2 separate regions of the Homo sapiens genome follow, and region 1 is linked to region 2. The links are contacts of gene promoters, found by promoter capture Hi-C in blood cells and fetal thymus (Javierre and others, 2016). All regions are on one chromosome and are shown on one strand. Each heading gives the region's core, a stretch centred on a gene start or on the middle of the fragment in contact. The rest is flanking DNA. Distances are from core to core; before and after follow the strand shown. Region 1 overlaps SLC44A3 (solute carrier family 44 member 3). Region 2 holds the start of TLCD4 (TLC domain containing 4).

The links. Contacts are between HindIII fragments. The CHiCAGO score rates a contact against its expected background, and 5 or more counts as called.
Region 1: a fragment that was not itself captured here is called in contact with the fragment with the promoter of TLCD4 in region 2 in 1 of 17 cell types (activated CD4 T cells); the score reaches 5.9 in activated CD4 T cells.

What each region holds. Positions count from the first base shown.
Region 1 is chr1:94,831,799-94,838,612 of GRCh38, reverse strand. It overlaps SLC44A3 (solute carrier family 44 member 3), which reads right to left. Exons shown (of 15, transcript NM_001114106.3): 6 at 742-902. Among named protein-coding and RNA genes, the nearest start is that of SLC44A3, 15 kb to the right of the region's middle. RefSeq lists an enhancer at 926-2,125. The HindIII fragment of the contact is 5,243 bases long and covers 2,535-6,814 here.
Region 2 is chr1:95,114,167-95,121,068 of GRCh38, reverse strand. It overlaps TLCD4 (TLC domain containing 4), which reads right to left and starts at 3,714. Exons shown (of 7, transcript NM_152487.3): 1 at 3,452-3,714. TLCD4-RWDD3 (TLCD4-RWDD3 readthrough) reads right to left here and starts at 3,146. Exons shown (of 8, transcript NM_001199691.1): 1 at 2,978-3,146. RefSeq lists silencers at 3,224-3,273, 3,354-3,633, 3,561-3,707 and a cis regulatory region at 4,962-5,489. The HindIII fragment of the contact is 12,433 bases long and covers 498-6,902 here.

The DNA.
Region 1 (6,814 bases), core at 3,907-6,406, 280 kb after region 2:
TATGTTAATGTCTGACCAAAGAGTTTCTCTCTACCAAGAGGTTTGTGGGCTGCCACTGGAAAGCGAGGAGACAATAGGCTCTTACCACTGTCTAAAGGGGCAGAGTGTATTCACCTGTTCAAAGAGAAAGTTGGCTCTTGATTTCAGCCAACTGAAACATAGAAAATGGGAACTCAAAAGATCAAGAGTGGGTAGCTGCTTCCAGAAATGCCCAGAGAAGGCTGAAGGCCTTGACCTGTCTACAACCCAAAGCAGGTATGTCCCTTAGAGGAGCAGGATACAGCAGGCCCTTGCAGTCTGACTCCATTTAACATGGATGCATACATGTCCTTGCCCTGCTCACCAAGCAGCTTTCTGATCTGCTTTCTGATCCACCTACAGGTGGAGGCATGTTTGGCCAGAAGACATGGTTTCTGGTCACCCTGACAGTTGTATTTTTCATGTCCCATCCACAAATTGGCAATCTGCTTTATATACCCATCCCCAGTGAGGAGCAGACACTAGAACATAGTCAGTATATCAAGGCAACCCTACCCACTGAGGCTTTCTGCCAGAGGGCCAGCCGCTCCTCTATTCGTATTGCCCCCATCCCACTTAAATCTGAAACACTGAAAATATCTATTAAAAATACAGAGTTTTATATTTAAAACAAGAGGCTAATTTTCATTGTACAACATATAAAATGCTAGGAACTTTGGCATTCCATAAACAACTATTAAAATTAACTTAACTGAGAATTACCTAATGCGAGGATACACAGGCCAAGGATTGTATCTCTTCCCGACATGATTCCACTTAGAATTCGGTGGAGGGTGTCAACATCATTTATCAAAACAGATGCAAATAGGGAGTAGCACTCAGGTGTTTGAGGGACACATCGGTTAAATAAGGGAAATGACTTGCTAAAAATAGAGAAAAAAAGATGGCAAAAATGTTTATTTAACATTTATCTTTAAAAGATGTTTATTTAACATTCTCAATAACCAAAAAAGCTTAAGAACTACAGTAATAGAGAGGCGTCTAGCATGCCATTTGCAGAGCACACCTTAGAAAGCCAGGCAAGTATGCTCTGCTACATCGATTAGCTGATGTTCTGAATAGGAAGTTGATTATGGGAACCCACAGAAACCAAAAACCTAAACTTGGGGAGCAACATTTTTAAAAATAAAAATTGCACATATTTAAGGTATACAATGTGATATTTTGATATATATAAACTTCATGAAATGATTGCTACAGTTAAGCTAATGAATGTATCCATAAATTCCCATAGTTATCATATTTTGAGAAAACTGAAGATCTGTTGTATCAAATTTCAAATATACAATACAGTATTATGAACTATAGTCACCATGCTTTACTTTATATATCTAGAATTTATTCATCCTACGTAACAGAAACTTGTATCCTTTGACCAGCATCTCTCATTTCCCCTGCCTGCATCCCTGATAACCACAATTCTATTCTCTGTTTCCATGAATTTGACTTTTTTAGATTCCACATACAAGTGGGGTCATGTATGGGATTTGCCCTTACATGCCTGGTTTATTTCACTTAACATAATATCCTCTGGTTCATCCACGTTGTTGCAAATAGCAGGATCTCTTCTTTTTTTAAGGCTAAATACTACTCTGTGGTATGTGTACATATACTACATTTTATTTATGGGGAACCTCTTTTTTTTTTTTTTTTTTTTTTTGTTGAGACAGGTTCTGCCTTTGTCACCCACGCTGGAGTACAGTGGCTCGATCATGGGCCACTGCAACCTCTGCCTCCAGGGCTCAAGCTATTCTCCCACCTCAGCCTCCTGAGTAGCTGAGACTACAGGCATGTGCCACCACGCCCAGCTAATTTTTGCATTTTTTGTAGAGACAGAGTTTCACCATGTTGCCCAGGCTGGGCAACATGAGCTCAAGCGATCCACCTGCCTTGATGTCTCAAAGTATTGGGATTACAGGCATGAGCCACTGTGCCCAGTGGGAACCACAATTTTTATTCTCCTGTCTTAGCCCTTCTTAGACACAAACTACCAACCCCAACAAAAGAATTGTATTTCTGTAAGGAACTATTAGGGATGTGAACTGGATGAGACAGAAGCTGTGTTAATGACACTATTAGCTTAATTCCGTCCTGTTTAGGAAGGCATATGAGGCTTGAGAGCCTTGCTATGAACAGTGGGTGCTCAATAAATGGATAGTAAATGTGTGATTGATGCTGCAGTTGATAACTGCCTTGGGTAGATGAGAAAGTTGACCTTTTTTTAGCTTCTTCCTGAAATGTAAAAAAGCCTAGCAATATGCATTCTAATGAATCTTCATGAGGCCACTGATACCTTCACAGGGTCCTGTTCTTCTTTCTTTCCATGAACCCCAAATGGTGGAAATAATCCCAACCAAAGAAGTGTCAAATTATCTAAAAAGCTGCTCAAAACCCAATCACCAATCATTTTGTGCAATGTATAAGAATGAAACAAAGGAGAATCCAAATGTTAAAAGATTTCATTGCCCTGAAGAAAAGAAATGACTTCCCAAGCTTCTAATGAAGCACAACATAGAACACGTGGAAGAATCTTTCTCCAGAAGTCTCAATATTACAGAAACAGTTCCTGAGTCACTGGATAGTGGTTCAAGAGAAGAGTAACACAAACGGTGTTTTTTGTAATTACATTTTTGAAGGGGTAATACATTCACATGGCTTAAATTCCAAAAAGTACAAGAGACCAAACAGCAAGAAATTGCCTTTCCTTGTCCTTGAGCTACCGAAGTACATTTCCTCACAGGCACCCATGATTTTTGGTTTCTTGCAAACCATTCTAGAGACTTTTATTAGCATATGTAAATATCATAGGAAGTTTAAATGGAATTTGCGGCTGAGCTCAAAGATAATAAAAATTCTACTCCAAAATGAGACGCCAGACTCCACCATTCAGGGCATGCCAAAAAAGAGGTGGGAGAAAAGTGGTTAGATTATTCTTAAACCCACATCCATGCTGAGAGCATAAAAGAGTTGGAAGTTGATAAGCAGAGCATTTTTAAAAGTAAACTTTAAATTTCTGAATAATTTTAGAGTTACAAAAAAATTGTAACGATGGTGGAGGGTTCCTCTGTGTATCCTTCACTCACATTCCCCTAATGTAAATGTCTTACATAACCACAGTATATTTGTGAAAATTAAGATTTAACATTGTCACTAAACTACTAACTAAACTACAGCCTTTATTTGGATTTCACCGTAACATCCTTTTTCTATTCCAGGATCTAATTCAGGATAGCACATGGCATTTTATTGTCACGTCTCCTCTTTGGTCATGACAGTTTATGTTTTTTGTAGAGACAGAGTCTTGCTATGTTGCCCAAACTGGTCTTGAACTCCTGAGCTCAAGCCATCCTCCCACCTCTGCCTCTCAAAGTGTTGGGATTACAGGTGTGAGCCACTGTGCCTGGCCTGTGACAAGTTTCTTAGTTTTTCCATGTTTCTCGTGACCTTGACATTTCTGAAGATTCATAGTCAGGTATTTTGTAAAATGTCCCTTAATTTGTAGAATTTCTCTCATGTTTTCTCATGATTAGGCTACAGTCAACAGGTTTTTGGGACAGTGCCACAGAGGTGAAGTGCCTTTCTCATAGAATCCTATCGAGGAACATGACAACACTGGTGAAGTTGACCTTGATCACCTAGTTAAGGTGGTACCTGCCGGGTTTCTCCTTGTAAAGTTGTTATTTTTCTCTTTTCCCTCTCTATCCTTGGAAATGAGTCACTAAGCCTAGCCCACTCTCAAAGGGAGGGAAATTCCACCTCTTGGAGGAAGAAGTAAAGATTTATCCCTTTCACCGGGAGCAGTGGCTCATGCCTGTAATCCTAGCACTTTGGGAGGCCGAGGCGAGTGGATCACTTGAGGTCAGGAGTTTGAGACCAGCCTGGCCAACGTGGTGAAACCCCATCTCTATTAAAAATACAAAAACTAGCCAGGTGTCGTGGTGGGTGCCTGTAATCCCAGCTACTCGGGAGGCTGAGGCAGGAGAATTGCTTGAACCCGGGAGGCACAGGTTGCAGTGAGCTGAGATCGTGCCACTACACTCCAGCCTGGGCAACAGGGCAAGACTGTTTCAAAAAAAAAGAAAAAAAGGATTTATCCCTTCCCCCCATTTATTTATTTATTCAATTATTTATTCATATCAGTATGGCCTCATCAACATTTATTCTTTTCTTTGGGTTATAATCTTAATTGTGTTATTCAATCTATTCCAGCTTTGGCCACTACGAGTCATCTGTGTCCTTTTGACAAGACCCATTCTTTTTCTTTCTTGAGCACTTCCTTACTTTCTGATGCTACAGGATGATGATACCAGACGTAGCTGGTATTTTCCTTATCCAAGTCCTAGAACCTGCCATTTCTCCAAAGAACCCTTGAAGACCAATGATTAGAAACCATGATCTGGGTATTGGGTATGGTGGGGTATTACTGATTCTAGGCCCTATAATCGATTCTAGTATGTAATTTCAGAATTGCTAACCATTATACTGTATTGTTTAGGGAATTTTTAAAAAATGAGAAAAACAATTGTTAACCAGTAGCTATGTGACAAACAAATGTACTATCTGGAGTACAGTGTTTGTATACAGTTCCTTTTGTCTTTAGCTTACAGTATCTAGTCACAAAGCTGTTTTCCAAAGTTACTCACATCAGCTCCTTATTAGTCATTTAATTTGTCACCCTCTACACACTATCCTAAGATCCTGACATCTTGATTTTAATTTTTATTTGCATATAGTAAAATCTACTCTGCACAGGTGATGACAAGTGCAGAGAATCATTAGAAGAGTAATTTTTGAAGAGTTGAAATTTTTTTTTTTTACTAGACTTGTCATGTGACTCCATCCCCATTTTCCTAAGTCAGATGAGAAGGGTTTCATGGAAAACTCAGAGAGCTTAGGGAATCCCCTGGCTTAAGGTCTGAGCCACCCCAAGAAATCTGGAGGGTGAGCGGCTTTAACAGCAGAGCAGAGAGCTACAGCTGGGGAGTTAAGAGCCCCCAGGGCATTTGTCAGGGCAAAGGGTGCAGAGGGCTTCCTGGGGTCTAGTTGTGGGCTGCATGTGCACAAGTCCCAGTGATGGGGTGCCACCGATCGTGTCTAAGACAGCCCTGTAGAAGGCTGTGGGGACCTTGGCAGAAGGAGCTGGAGGTGGCTGCTCTCTGAGGTAGCTAATTAATGCCTCAGGACTGAGGAAAGCCTCTCACATGACCAGCCAGAGCACAGATGCATTAGACTACATGAAAGGCACTGCAGCTGAAAGAGCCCCGAAGAACCCAAAACATGCCCATGAGGGAAAGAGCTGGCCGGGACATCTCCCAAGCCCAGAGAATGCTGGTGCTAGTATCAGACAAGTAAATGTGTTCCTGCTACTATTTTCTTCCTTCACTTTTGCTGCACCAGCCCCTTAGACAAAACCTGTTTCAGCAAGCTGGGAGAGGAGGGCAGGAATAAACAGAGGAGAAGGGAGGCTGACTACAGCCTCCTTCCTGGACTATGGCCTTCCCACTTGCTCCTGGGCCAAGCGTGCAGGGGGCAGAAGTTTGAACCTCCGATCAAGTGAGAAGTTTATCACATTGGGCTGAATATTTTTTAATTTAAAAAAAAAAAGTTGAGACAGGGTCTTGCTCTGTCACCAAGGCTGGAGTGCAGTGGCATGATCACAGCTCACTACAACCTCAAACCCCTGGGCTCAAGAGATCCTCCCATCTCAGCTTCAGCTAGGACTAAAGGCATGTTCCACTATGCCAATCTAATTTTTAAATTTTTGTAGAGACATGGTCTCGTTATGTTGTCCAGGCTGGTCTTGAACTCCTGGCCTCAAGCAATCCTACAGCCCTGGCCTCCCAAAATGTTGGGATTGCAGGCATGAGCCACTGTGCCTGGTCTGGGCTGAACATTTTAATTATTGAATTGAAAGTGTCTGTTGCAACTTAAAGTGACTCAGTATGTATTACCTAAAAGTTACCAGAGAAGCCTTGGGAATTGCCTGTGTTTTTATTCAGGGGCAGAAAAAACTAGTCCCACTGAATAAATTTAAAGAGACAGAGAAAGACAAAAATTAAATTGCTTTCTGACTACATCCTGTAAGTCATGCTTGATGTAATAATGGTTATACAAGCAAATATATACCTAGATATATATATTTATAGGTTTATACTTACATTTTCCACTTTTTATGCAAAAGTATACTGCACACTGTTCTATTATTTGTTTTTTTTTTAACTTAATACACTTCAGAATGTAAGGAATTCCTCTTATTTTTACTGAGGCAATATTTATATACAATGAAATACACTGATCTTAAACATAAAATTAGAGACTTTGATAAACATACACATCTATGTAACTGCTACGCCTTTCGAGATTTAGAGTATTTCATTAGCTGGGGTAGGGATGCATCTTTTTTTTTAGATGGAGTCTTGCTCTTGTCACCCAGGCTGGAGTGCAATGGCGTGGTCTTGGCTCACTGCAACCTCCACCTCCCAGGTTCAAGTTATTCTCCTGCCTCAGCCTCCCCAAGTAGCTGGGATTACAGGCGCCTGCCATCACACCCAGCTAATTTTTGTATTTTTAGTAGAGACGGGCTTTCACCATTGTTGGCCAAGCTGGTCCTGACCTCAGGTGATCTGCCCGCCTCGCCCTTCCAAAGTGCTGGGATTACAGATGTGAGCCACTATGCCCGGCTCACAGGGATGCATCTTTAGGCCATGGCCTGAGGTTTCTTCACCACTTCTGCTTTTCTTCTTCCCATTAGCAAAGCCACTCAAACTTGCAGGAA
Region 2 (6,902 bases), core at 2,465-4,964:
TGTGAGTTCTGCACCTGTCAGACACAAGATGAGTCTCTACACTGCCTTCTCTCCCACCGACAGGGGTCCAGGTAGTGCTCAATCAATTCTATGCTCCCCACACCTCCTCCAGTATCTCCAATCCCCCTCCGCCCAGCCTGCTCCACTGCAACCTGTTTTTCTACCCATTGGAAAAGTGGTTTCCAAATAGTGGACTGTGATCCACTAACACGTTATGAGTTTTTAAGAACACAGACTAGAAACAGAAATTCAATAGAAATAGAAACTAGTTTCACATACACATATACTTGCTATGCCCTGGGTCTCAGTGTAAAAATGCATTTTGTACTGTTGTAGTCTGAAAATGTTTGAAACACTGCTTTAGACAAGCGTTTGTCCACCTACTCAAACTCCACCCATGATATTGGTCCCGCTGTCTGGGACTCCCTTCCTCCAGTGCTGGCTCAAGCTCTGAACAGCCTTCCACGTGTCTTCTTCGTTGGCTGTTTTCAAAAGCTTTGGCCTTTTACACCAGTTCAGAAGCTCCTTCTTATATATCCATTGCCTTCTCCGTGAACAGACCAATGTTCTGAACAAAGAAACACCTTTTGCTATTCCTGCCTTATCCTGCCTGATCAGGTCTGGGATCTGCTTGCAGCACATCCAACTGTCTCACCAGGAATAACAAGCCTCAGAGCAGTAGGCCTCCATTTCTTTGTGTGCAACCTTTCATCCTCAACAAGAAAAAATACCACTAAAGTCACTCTGGAAATACCTAGACTTTCTTACAAAATTAGCCTTACTTTCCTAATGTAATGTATTCTCTGGTGTAATCCATCCAGCGCCTGATACCAATGCCAGGTGAATACAGCTCATTCCTAATGTTCAGTTAAAGTCTGTTTCCCATCCTTGAGAACAGATGGTGACTCCACCTCCATACTGCTATCTTCTTCTTCTCTCAAGGCAAATGGAAGAAGAAAAAGCACAACAGGGTGACTGCACTAGTTTGGTGGTATCCTTTCCTCTCTCAAGGACGAGGGCACAAGTTGTCCAGCACAACTCCACCCCCAGTCTGGCCCTCCTTTGTCCAAATGCCCATAATTCTCACCCAGACAATTAATTCATTATCTTCCTTAACAGAAAAGCTAGCTTTTCATATCTTAGTGTAGACTGTTCAGTTTACTCTTCTCAGCCAAACTGAGTATCCCAGTTTGAGATATTGAAGCCCAAACAAATCCTTAATCTGTAGGATGTGGGACTAATTTGGAAAGAAGGGTGGGGAGAGACACTGAGGTCTAAAGAGTTTCTTACAAACTAAACTGCCCATTTTCCTCTAATACATGCAAGACCAGCTTTGAGAGAGGAACATGAACGCTGGGCCTCCTTTAGAGCACCAAAGAGGAGAGTAAACAGGTCTGAAAACTGTTAAGACAGCTGTGCTTGACTCTGAGGAGCCAGAAACACTCTCAAAGAGAAAGAGGGAGAAGGGCCCATCAAACCTCAGGTACATTCCCAAACCTGCCTAGAAGCTGTGCCACTTCCCTTTTGAAACCCAGCCCCTTTCCCATTTCTCAATTGGGAATCTAGGGATCCTTTACTTCCTACTAGTTATCTGGTTACAGGGAGGACTCTCCAACACCTACAAAGCCACTACTTCTTTCTCCCCAGTCTTTTGCAGGGAAGGCTCTTAATCAGTCTAACACTCAGATTTCTGATAGCTCCCTGCTCATAAGACTTCCCTTGGCAATCAGATGAATTTACCCAGTGGAGATTTCAGAAAATCAAGGAAAAGACAGGCCAACTCTTGCATCTGTACTCCAGGACCTATTCAGAAGACTCCAGTGAAGACCTAGCTTCCCTGGGGTTTGCATTAGTCTCAGCACCTTGAGCATGCCATTCCTAGTTCACCTCCAAGTATAAAGCATTAGTAGCAAAGACCCATTATTCTTTCCACCAGGGTAAAGAAGGCTTAGAGTGAAATGAATATAAATGGAAATCTAATACTGTAAATAAATAATGACTGATTGGGCAGCTGGGTCAGAGGCATCCAGCCTAAACAGATAAAATTCATCTCAAGGATGAGGACAGTAAAGATTCAAACTCCAGAGGGAGGTAATGGGACAAAAGGAGTTGCAGGCGTAGAAAAAAAAAGAAGCACCCTCAAAATATTCTCTGGGTTATCAGATGGCACAGGAGGGGCGTGGCAAATAAACTAAAATCCATGGTTCTTCACCCATTCTTTCATATTTTCTAACACGGCGGGAATACACTTTTCTAATTTCGTTTCGCCCAATTTAAGGAAAAGATAAGCAAGGATAAAAATTCCTCATATATAGCACAATTAAAAGGGAGCTGGGATTCTCTAACTTATTACCTTAATCGGCTACACAAAGATGAAGCTACATTTCAATCGACACCATGCGCTGGCACGGGAGTAACTCACTTAAAACACCACAATCCAAGGTCAATTTTTCTCAACTCCATTTATGACTGCGTAAAGATTTTATTAAATCTTTTTTCCTATTTCACACATCAATTCCTAGGGTCCACACAAACTCTTCCATCTTCTCCAAACTGGTATTTGGATTAAACATTATCCAAGATCAGTCTTTAAAGTAAATTTCATAATTTCATATAAAAGTGTGCACCACATTAACACTCAAATGTGTGTACAATTAAAAATATACAGACCAGCAACAGCGACTCTTAAATGAATTTAGACTCAAAGTGTTTTCACAGAGGTTTTTCTGCCGTCTTGGAGGGGTAGGAAACTGCTGGCATTACGAATCCCATTTCATGGCTGGGTAAACCGAGGCACTTAGGGGTTACAGAGGTAAAGATGGAAATAGAAACCAATTTCTCCCTCCGACTCTACGCCTGGTCCCTTCCCACTAGACTTTTCAGCACTCAGTGGCTAAAAATGGGACCCACTTGAGAACTGCAAGGGTAAATAAGAGCTACTTGTTTCAGAAGGTGGCGGCGGGGGAGGGGGACTTACCCACTTGATGCGCCCGATTGTGTGTGGGCTCTAACAAGAAAGCTCTCCCTGGATGCCCAAAGGTTTGCACCCACCCGCTTTAAGCTCAGACCCGAGAGGCACCGCCAGGCAGACAGGGCAGCCGGAATCGTGCAGCCCGAGAAACGCGAGAGGAATGCGGGGCGCCCGGGCGGCGCGGGGGCCGCGGGCCCCGGGACACCATTTGCTCCCGGAGCGACGCCGTGGCCCGCCGGGCGGGGACGATGCTGAGCCTTCCGCACACACCTGCCGGAGCCCGCCCGGGAGCCCCGGGCCGCCTCCCGCGCGCCGGACGCCCACCCAGCCTCCAGGCGCAGGAGCTCTCGGCCGCGCTAGGCCAGGGGCGGGAAGCCGCGGCACCCCTCTCCGCGGGCTGCGCTTGGCGGCTGGCGCGGGGGAGCCGCGGGGCGAGGCAAGCCCGCCTTCCTCCCCAACCCCCCCTCCAAACGGCGTCACCTGTGCCGGGTCCCGGGGCGAGTCGCGCGCGGGCGGCGGCTGCGCCGAGCCGGGAGAGGGCGGCGGGTGTCTACAGGAGTCTGCTCATCCGGGCCGGCCCGAGGGCTGGCGCTGGCCAGTGCCGCCCGGTGAGATGCTCACGGGAGCCAGGGAAGCCGCGGGTTCCGGGCCGCTTGGAGGTGCAGTCGCGGAGGCTCCAGCTACCGCGGCGGCCGTCGCGCCCGCCCGGACTGCGGGCTCGGGTTACCGCAGAGCTGCTCCTTAAAGGGGCCGCGGCCGCTCGGGCTCCGGCTCCCGCTCCGGGCGGCTCCGACCCTGGCCAAAGTGGGCGGGGCCCCGAGGCGGGCCGCCGAGCAGACCTTCTTGCCCTGGAACTTGGGTCCCGGAAAGAGCCCAAAAACCCTAACACCCGAAGTCGCAGCGGAGAGATCCTGGAAGCTCACACCTTGCCAAGGGCAGAGGGTGCAATTCCCGGGTTTTCCAAAGCAAGTCACAAAACTTGCCAGCGGGGGAACTGTGTGAGCCCGCCCCCGCAGCGGTCAGTACCTGGGCTAGCCACGTAACAAAAAATCTTCTTAAATTATGAATTTACATTCTGCCTTAAATGCTCAAATACTGGGGACTTCATGGTTAGATCATCAGAAAAGAGATGAAAAGGCAACTGCTGGTTTTTCTTGCCACGTCTGACACGGCCACACTCGAGTCCCGCCAGTTCTTCTTTGGGGCTGCAGGTGCATACCAAACTGGTAGGGGGCGCGTGTAGAAGAAGCGTGTTCTCTCCAGCACCACCTCCAGAATTCCTGAAAAACACCCTCATGGGTGCACCAGCACTACACCTACACCCGGAACCCCTCTGTTGTCGGGGTGTGGAAGTTGGATTTGAATATTTGGTGCTGGCTGAGAATTCCAAGTTGCCTAGTAGATAAAGTTTGACATTAAATAGATGTTCTGACCTGTTATATACAGCCCCAAAAGCCTCCAAGTGATCTGCATCAACCAGAGATAATTGTCTGAAACAAAACAAAATAACAAAGAGGTATACTCATGCATTATAATTCGCAGAGAGCAATCACAAGGCCTTTTCTTGAAAAGAGGTAAGTTCTAAATAAATAATTTGTAAACACTATCATTGATAACAGGATATTTATTTCTAAGAAATGTCAATAGAGCTAACATATTTGATCTACTATATACATGCGCAGAAAGACACACATATCTGCCGCAGATTTAGACCAGAAAATATATACACAAAAGCTCATATAAGCTGTCCATGTTTATTTTCAAGAGAGGGCAATAGAATTTAAATCAGAACCTGGAATTCTGTCAGTTTATTAGAGTTGTGTGCCTTTAGCTAACTGAACCTCACTGAGGCTCAATTTCTTCATCTTTAAAATGGTAATAATAATTCATAGTGACTCTGAAGACCTGGACTGATGTGGAAAAGACAAAATCTATACCACAGAACAGGGAGGGACAGAAACCTGCCCTGCAGTCAAGCAGAGAGAAAGATCTTTCAGGCCCCCAAATGCGTGTTCCCCTTTTTCTCCCCAAGACTCTCAGGATGTACCAGGGCTCCAGTGCTCTTTGAACCACACGGTGTCCCATCATAGTCCCTTCACAATATGTGCAGTACCTGACAACTTTGGTTTGCGCAATAGCTACCTTGTGCACTCACATAGCTATTTCATAACTCTCTGTGGGCAGGATGGTTATATGTGAACATCTGTGAAGTCAGCCCAGAAAATACCAATTTCACAGTGTCCTCTCAAGAGTCTGTATCAACACTACCTCCTACAGAAACTCTCCCATGCTAGTCTCTGGTGGCTGATAGTAGCTCTGTTCTTTCCTGATAAATGCACCATCATTATCTTTGATATGCATAATTCTCTAACACCAACAGCAGTAACCAAAGCCAGGTAAACCCACAGAAATCCACTATACTCTATGTCCCACTATATTCCTTCATATTAGGCCTCTACAAATGCCTCATGAAAACTGCAAGATTGTTTTTGAGATTGTACAGAACATATAAGTTAATATATCAAGGACAAGGCCTGAGCTATGAGAGGAATTCAGTAAATAGTAGTTGAATGTTGCAAGTTTTAAGCTAATTAAAACTCAGTGACCTTAGGAGGTAGAAGAATACATCAACTGTATTTTTTCCTGAAAAATTCAGGGTAGCTTAATCTCTTTAAAAATATCCAGTTCATGGCTGGGTGCAGTGGCTCACGCCTGTAATCCCAGCACTTTGGGAGGCTGAGGCGGGCAGATCACCTGAGGTTGAGAGTTCGAGACCAGCCTGACCAACATGGAGAAACCCTGTCTCTACTAAAAATATAAAAAATTAGCCAGGCATGGTGGTGCTTGCCTATAATCTCAGCTACTCGAGAGGCTGAGGTAGGAAAATCGCTTGAACCTGGGAGGCAGAGGTTGTGTGAGCCGAGCTCACACCATAGCACTCCAGCCTGGGCAATAAGAGCGAAACTCTGTCTCAAAAACAAACATATATATTATATATATATATATATAATGTGTATATATATATATCCAGTTCATTAAATCTGTATTATTAATTGTTTCACCAATATTCCCTTTCCAAGGATACTTTCTCAGAATTCTGTATTTACCATATGAAGTTTTTCTGCATTTTAAATGGGATGTATAAAGACCGAATTGCACTTTTTATATTGTTATTCACTGAAACAGTTCAAGCAAACAGATCAGAGAAATGAAAGTATTTATCCACACTTGAAATGGGCAACAAATACAAAAACTCTTTTTTTTTTTTCTTTGAGACAGAGTCTTGCTCTGTTGCCCAGGCTGGAGTGCAGTGGTGCCATCTCGGATCACTGCAACCTCCGCCTTCCAGTTTCAGATCTCGTGCTTCAGCCTCCCGAATACCTGGGATCACAGGCATGCACCACCATGCTTGGCTAATTTTTGTATTTCTAATAGAGACGGGGTTTCACCATGTTGGCTAGGCCGGTCCCGAACTGCTGACCTCAAGTGATCCACCCACCTCGACTTCCCAAAGTGCTGGGATTACAGGCTACCATGTCCAGCCAAAAACTGTTTTAAATGAAGTAAGTTTTCCTGATGAATTTATTTTCCAAAATTCTTAATCTTCTGAATAGAACCAATTGTTTGAAAAACTAAGACCAAAAGCTGTTTTTTTTCTAAAAATTATAATTAAAGCAAAAATATTTTGAGAAGTTGCCTTAATTCTCCACTCTGCTCTGTTAGTGAAGATACAAACTAAATGACGCCAAACATTTTGATCAGAAAGGCTGAATTACTAAAAAATGAATAACCCCAAGCACTACTTTTTCCTGTGTTGGTAGTTTTAGTGTATTAAGAGTGTTTGTAGTTTTATAAGTGTTTAAAAATACTTTCACCAGGCACACTGGCTTATGTCTGTAATCCCAAGTGCTTTGGGAGACTGAGGCAGGAG